2 separate regions of the Homo sapiens genome follow, and region 2 is linked to region 1. The links are contacts of gene promoters, found by promoter capture Hi-C in human tissues and cell types (Jung and others, 2019). All regions are on one chromosome and are shown on one strand. Each heading gives the region's core, a stretch centred on a gene start or on the middle of the fragment in contact. The rest is flanking DNA. Distances are from core to core; before and after follow the strand shown. Region 1 holds the start of BTC (betacellulin). Region 2 overlaps RCHY1 (ring finger and CHY zinc finger domain containing 1).

Region 1 (3,890 bases), core at 96-2,595:
CTGACTCCTTCCTCTTCAGCGTTTGTTAAATAAGTTTATTTTCTCTAACCTTGGTCCTAAGTCTGATCCACCTCCAAGCAAGTTCACTGTACCTTTTTAGCCACCTCTCTTACTCCAAGGACACAGTCAAATGAAAGTTTTCATTTAGGCTCCCCCTCTCTTTCCTCAATAAGAGGAATTCCCATTCTTTTTCATTTGTGGTGTCCCCTTCCCAGGCTTGAAGGTAGGAGTGATATCGTGGTGACACTTCAGCTGTGGAGACTCTCCTCCTACCACATAAATGCTCCAAACCCAGATGTGTCTACAGCCCAGCTAAGATTAGAAAATGTTACTGGTTTCCCTTCCCTTCTCTGCCCCGCAAAATGACCATGATGCAGAGAGCAAGCTTTGAAGAGTTGGGATTTTTTCCTACTTAGAAGCCTTCTCACTACCTTCCCTCGGTGGAGGGGAAGGGGAAGCCTGCTTCCAGCCACATCTGAAGTTCCAGCTCTGCTTTGTGAGTTCTGACTCCTAAGGAGGCAGGAGAGACCCTCTGGAGGGCTCTAGGCATCCTGCTACTCCTCCTCCCGCTGGCACTCTTCCCTAACGCCAGGTGATCACACCTTCAGTCAAAGAGTTCCCGTTCTTCTGCCTCCTGCAGGATATGCTTCTTGGTCTATACTACCACGTGAGCTTCTTTAGTGGGTTTCCCTGCTCGCCCCTGCCCCCACCCCCCGACCCTCACTTGCGAGCACAGCGCCTCACCCCGGTGGACAGCCCGCCGGCGCCGCCAGGCCCTCTGCTGTGCGCACAAGTCAGCAGCTGGCGGCCTGCTCGCAGCACTGGCAGCGAGGACCTCGGAATCGCTTCCGCCCTCGGGCCTTCTCACGCGTCTAGGGACTGCCTCCAGCAGGTGCAGCCCCAGGTGCCCAATTGCCAGATCTTTAACCTCGCGCTCTCCCAGCCTTCAAAGTTCTCCAACCCGCGCCTGCCAGCCCCAGCGCGCCCTCTTGTCCAGATGCCAGCTCGGTTCAGGGTTCGCCCTCCCCGCGACTCCAGCCCCAGACTTTCCTCCTGGTTTCCAGTGCCCAGCACGGCCACTTACCCAGGGCAAGGGCCAGGAGCAGTGGCAGGGAGCTGGCGCCGCTGCACCGGGCGGCCCGGTCCATCAACCCCGCTCTGCCGGGCCGGGCAGCCCCTAGACAAGTCTCCCTCCTTCTTCGCCCCCTTCCCGGGCCTCGGGCGCCTGAGAGGGTGCCTGGAAACTAATCCCGGAGGCAGAAGGAAACGAAACTACTTCCCAGGCTGGCACCCTGGCTACAAGGCAGGGAAACACCCAGGGCGGGAGGCCGGCCGGCTCCGTGAATGTCGCCGGGAGGAGGGAGCCTCCTATTTATCCCCCCTCCTCCTGCACACACCCCGCCAAAGAGGCGCAGGACTTGGTCCTGGGAGCCTCCACGCTGCTCCCACCCAAATTGCCCCACACCCATACCCACACCCAGGGACATATTCGGGCTGCCCTCGGACCAGCTCACCACTCCCCCTGCTGGGTCTCACCTGACTGACTGTTCATTTCCCTACCCCCTAGGGCGTAAACAAGGTAGGGAGGGAGATGTAAAGAATCCGCGTGGAGGGGTGTCGGGGGTTCCGGTCGGGCCTGCAGGCTGACCTAAACTCCTGGAAGCCACCGAGGAAGAGTCAGAGACCCAAACGTGTTCTGGAATTCTAACTTCCTTTATTTCAGAGGATTGCTAGTGTCATGGAGAAACCAGACTCACCATTCATTGTGGTTGACTTCAGGCATTTGATAATGCAGGCAATTTCAAAAGAGTCATTGTTGCCTTTTAAAGTCTTGAAGCCATAGCGAAACCTCGTCTCTACAAAAAATACAAAAGTAAATTAATAGCCGGGTATGGTGGTGTGCACCTGCAGTCCCATCCATTCCCTGAGGCTGAGGTGGGGAGGATCGCTTAAGCTTGGGAGATGGAGCCTTCAATGAGCCTAGATCGAGCCACTTCACTCCAGCCAAGGCGCAAGAGTGAGACACTGTTTCAAAACAACGACAACAACAACAACAACATCAGCAACAAAAAAAAAAAAAAAAAAAAAGAAAAGAAATGAAAAAAGTCTTCAAGCTAGTGTCTTAGTTTCTGGGTGCATTGTCTTCTAATAATTCATAAAATTGGGGCTCACCAGGACCTACTTTAGAAATTTCATTTGTATTTCTGTTTATGAATTTACTCATGTATTCAGTATATTTTCATTTACTTGCATTAAGCAATTTCTGGAACAGAAAGACATCCTCACAGCTTTTAGAGAAAGCAAGCAGCATCCAATTTTACCTTATGTGGTTATATATTGCCTCCAAGATAACCAAAAGATACAGCTGCTTTTGTACTGGTCTGTGTTCCTCATATAAGATTTATGTGGATAATTATGCCCCTCAGTACAGAAATTTTATTTCTATAGCATCCAAAAGTCATGTAAGCCTTATTTTACATATGAAATGTAGTTTGGGTGTCTGCCTCTTCCTCCTCATCCTACTGTTTAAGTTAAGTAAATTGTTGTGCACTTGTCTCCCACGAATAACATTTCATTTCAAAACTAAATTATTTTACTGCCCCAGGCAACTGATATATCCGGTGGAATAAAAATCAGCTCTTAATTTTCAGAATCCCATTCTAGTCCCACATGACAGCTCATAAAACATTGGTAGAGAGGGCAGGCATGAAGTTTAAAGAAACCCAAAGTTGTAAGATGGAAGGTTACTGCACCCCAGCTAAAAAGAGCAGAAACACTGGAAGCCAATGGATTTTGACATCATCTCCCTCCCTCTCAACACTTCCACCCTGCATTTTTCTTTTCTGATATTCTCTCCATCTCTCAGCACCAGTGCCCTAAGTTAAAGTATCTCTTACTCCAAGATGGCATTTAGCCTAGCCAACAGCTGTCCTGTTAGCCCCAACAGAATGCTACAATTTTGTTTTCCTTTTTCGTAGATACTAATAAAAAAAAAAAAAAGCGAGACCTAAACAAAAAGTACTAAATGTTTGTTGAGCATTGGAAAATTCCAGGACTTGGTGTAAGTATTCATCATTTATGCCATTCAAGTGGTAAATTAACTTTTTCAGGCCACTAGAATATGAAGTAGTATAATTTAATATACTAAATAGGACAGATAAATTAATAACCTTCCTTGAGGGCTTTATTTACCACCATAAATAAAATAAGTACTCCCAAGAAAATCCAAATTTTCTGACACTGGATATCCAATCTCTTCAATGTTAAGAGACTTTTCCTGTCTTTTTTTGTTTGTTTCTTTTTTTTCCCCTCACTTTCTTTCTCTCTGTTCTTCCTCCTCTTCTTCCCTCTCCTTCTCCTTCTTCTTTTTCTCCCCCAGCCCCCAACCACCTCTCTCTCTCAAGTCATTTGCTTATGGGGCATGGTAAAGCTGGAATACAACCATTACATTTGGAAGAGTGGAAGGTAAGAATTGATTTTCCTGAGTCCTCAAACATGTAACTGAGTTGCGTCTCAGTGCTTTCATTTGCAAGCTGAGCTGTTACTAAGAGAAAAATAAACCAAAGTTACACCAGAGTCACAAGGTGAAACTTGTATTCCTAGTTAACCCCAAGGTAGGAATTGCTTGAGTGCTGTTCTTCCTGTGCCAGGTTTAGGCAGGTATAACCAGTCCTCCCAAATCTGGTATGAGGCTTAAGTAGATTCCTTTGGAGGGCCTTTAAGCATCAGCCTTTTTCTCTTCCCACACAGAACAGCCTGCAGCTGGGACCGTCCTCCCCGTCTTCTGGACAGGACAAAATAAACTTGTAGTTACATATAGGGCACAACACATAAACAGACACACGCCATGATGGAAAGGAAAATTTTGGAATGCATTCCTTCTAGGCCAA
Region 2 (3,757 bases), core at 170-2,669, 710 kb after region 1:
TCCCAAAGTGCTAGGATTAGAGGCGTGAGCCACTGCGCCCAGCTCTTTTAATATTTTTATTATCTAAAAAATAATAGTCATTATTGATGATCATATGTCATTTGACTAAAGACAGTATTTGTCAAACTTAATAGATTTTGCTTCCAATATCTTTTGGCAGATTTTTTAAAAATCAAAAGAACTCAAAAATCCTCGAGGGTAGTTTTTCAGTATGCCATATGCACTCATTAAAAGCAACTGCAGAAAATAAACATTTCAAATATTTTTGAACAATGACAAAAGATAAAATGCCTCCTAAAATGCCTACTTGAAGTGAACATAATTATTTGTCTATAACGTGAGTCACATATTACAATACCCAATAACATAAAACAACTTTTCTATTTGAAAATTCTGTTATTCTATACATTAAACATCTCCTAATTATGTTCCACTGAACATGAAAAGGATTCTATAATCAAATACTGTTATTAGAAACTCAATATACTTGGATATTTGCACTGTACAATTAACAAGTTAAAAGTTCTGAAAAGGCTCAGTGCGGTGGCTCACGCCTATAATCCCAGCACTTTGGGAGGCCAAGGTGGGAGGATCACCTGAGGTAGGGAGTTCAAGACCAGCCTGACCAACATGGAGAAACCCCATCTCTACTAAAAATACAAAATTAGCCAGGCATGGTGGCACATGCCTGTAATGCCAGCTACTCGGGAGGCTGAGGCAGGACTTGAACCCAGGAGGCAGAGGTTGCGGTGAGCCAAGACAGTGCCATTGTACAACAGCCTGGGCAACAAGAGTGAAACTCTGTCTCAAAAAAAAAAAAGTTCTGAGAAGGGATTTTGATTAAATTCAGCATTTAACAAAGCTTTTATGACTGCAAAAGCCTTTTTATACAATATTCACTCTGTACCCAGGTCTAGTTCTTTTTTTAATCAATTCTGTTTTAAAGATGAATATTTTGTGACATTTATTCTTTCTTTAGAAATCTTCCAAAGAAGGCCAGCTGCGGTGGCTCACACCTGTAATCCCAGCACTTTGGGAGGCCAAGGCAGGTGGATCACGAGGTCAGGAGATCGAGACCATGCTGGCTAACACGGTGAAACCCCGTCTCTACTAAAAATACAAAAAATTAGCCAGGCATAGTGGCGGGCGCCTGTAGTCCCAGTTACTTGGGAGGCTGAGGCAGGAAAAAGGCATGAACCCAGGAGGCAGAGCTTGCAGTGAGCCAAGATCGCGCCACTGCACTCCAGCCTGGGCGCCAGAGTGAGACTCCGTCTCAAAAAAAAAGAGAAAAGAAATCTTCTAAAGAAGAAAATCTACTTTTTCTTTAATAGAATAAACTCATTCTATTCTGTTTGCAATTATCATATGGGTCCATTGAACCCTTTCATAAATCTGATACATTATGGAATCTTAATCTTATTTTTCCTAATTTTGGTATTTCAGCATCCTAGGAATCCTTTCACATTATCAATCATTCCCAACTATCCTAACAAAAAGACTAAAATGCAAAGCATGGTAGAAAGACCTTTCATGTAGAAACATGAAAGAATGACATGAAATAATCACTAATGCATAATCCTTCGGTTTTCTTTCTGTACTGCTCAAAGTATTACATCATCTTTCCAGAAGGCATTAAAGAGTCCGCAGATACCTTCTTTGTAGTTTTCCTTGAACACAGTTGAGAAATCAGAATTTTTCATTTTTCACAAATAGAAAAAAAAAAAGGAAAATTTAGACAAAGCAGAAAATAAATGCAAAAAGGCAGATAACCATTCTAGACTGAAGGTTCTCCACCTAGGCAATATTTACATTTTGAACCAGATAATACTTTGTAGCAGGAAAGCGTCTTGCACATTATAGGATGTTTAGTAGCATCCCTGGTCTCTATCCAGTAGATGTCATTAGCATCTGCTACCCCTCACTCCCTGGTTACAACAGCTGAAAATGTCTCCAGGCATTGCCAGATATCACCTGGGAAAAAACTCTCCCCAGTTGAGAACCAGTGCTCTGGACTCTAATTATAATGATGGTGAAATCAATCCTATAAGCAATAAATCAGATTATGATTTTCAGATGATGTACCATATGAATGGTCTCACTGAAAAAAAGGAATGAACAATATATTTCTAAGGACAAAAAGAAAATATGGTGGCCAGGCACAGTGGCTCACACCTGTAATTCCAGCATTTTGGGAGGCCAAGGTGGGCGGATCACGAGGTCAGGAGATCAAGACCATCCTGGCTAACAAAGTGAAACCTCATCTCTACTAAAAATACAAAAATTAGCTGGCTGTGGTGGCGAGTGCCTGTAATCCCAGCTACTAGGGAGGCTGAGGCAGAATTGCTTGAACCCAGGAGGCAGAGGTTGCAGTGAGCCGAGATCACGCCACTGCACTCCAGCCTGGGTGACAGAGTGGGACTCCATCTCAAAAAAAAATTAATTAAAAAAAAAAAGAAAATATGGTATCCTCACTTAGTCATTTATTAGGAAGGACTTCAAATTACATTATTTCATGACAAAAACCTGGACATCCTTAAAGAATGTGTGATAATATTCTTCCATCTTTTATGACGTTTGTACACCAAAATTTACTTAATATGGTTCATAAGTGGACAAACGTTGAAGGCAGGTACATATGTTAAAGTACTTAAAAGGAAACAGATGATGTAAAAATGAAAAAAATTCATTAAAATGTTTTGCAATTACAGAGCATGCAATTATGAAGAAAGGTCGTCTTTTCTTCAACCAAATTACGACTCTCAAAGTTCTCAAATGTATTTGAATTTGGTAATATGTGTACAGAAGTAATGATAAGCCAAGACTTATCAGTGGTGTATTTGAGATCTGGAATTAGTATTGCATTTTGATGATACAAATACAAGAAGAACCAGAAGTAATTACAAGCTAGAACCTATTAGAAATGTATCTAAAATCTAGTATCAGTTATTTACACGATGCACATGTGCCAGATTCAAGCATGACAACTGACAAGTAAATACAGTTGACCCCTTGAACAACACAAATTTGAAGTACACAGGTCTACTTATAAGCAGATTTTCTTCTACCTCTGCCACCCCTGAGATAGCAAAGCCAATCTCTCTTCTTCCTCCCTCTTTTCAGCCTACTCAACATGAAGAAGGATGAAGACCTTTATGATGATCCATTTCCACTTAATGAACAGTTAACATATTTTCTCCTTATGATTGTCCTAATATTTTTCTCTAGTTTATCCTAAGAATATAGTATATAATACATATAACATACAAAATATGTATTAATTGGCTATTTGTGTTATTGATAAGACTTCCAGTCAGTAGCAGGCTATTAGTAGTTAAGTTGTGGGGAGTTGAAAGTTATACTCAGATTTTCAACTGAGCTGGCACTTGGTGCCCTTAACCCCCAACATTGTTCAAGGGTCAAAAGCAGTTACAGAGGACACTGACATATTTGAGCACACATTATCTTCAACTTGGAATACATGGAATTAAAATTTGGGTTTGCAGTGTTCAAATTCTTAGTAAAATTTCCAGTGAAGTTAATTTTCACTATCCTTTATTCTTTCGTCTGCACATTATTCACAAAAGGGCTTTAAAATATTTTTTAAAGTAAAAAGAATCCATTATACTTAAATGGTAAATGGCGATGACTAATTTTTCTAGTATATTCAGGGTTATCATAATACTGAAAACACTGCCAAAGATATACTGCCTACACATTACTGTGCACCTACTGTATATACGGCAGCGGTCACCAACCT

What was found. The method cuts DNA at HindIII sites, captures the fragments that hold promoters and counts their contacts. A contact is called where the count stands out against the background at its distance.
Region 2: a fragment that was not itself captured here is called in contact with the fragment with the promoter of BTC in region 1 in 1 of the 25 tissues and cell types used here (lymphoblastoid cells).

The regions. Positions count from the first base shown.
Region 1 is chr4:74,793,178-74,797,067 of GRCh38, forward strand. BTC (betacellulin) reads right to left here and starts at 1,346. Exons shown (of 6, transcript NM_001729.4): 1 at 1,085-1,346. The coding sequence starts at 1,148. The HindIII fragment of the contact is 8,112 bases long and covers 1-3,890 here.
Region 2 is chr4:75,501,265-75,505,021 of GRCh38, forward strand. All of the region lies in intron 3 of RCHY1 (ring finger and CHY zinc finger domain containing 1), which reads right to left. Among named protein-coding and RNA genes, the nearest start is that of RCHY1, 11 kb to the right of the region's middle. The HindIII fragment of the contact is 6,037 bases long and covers 1-3,757 here.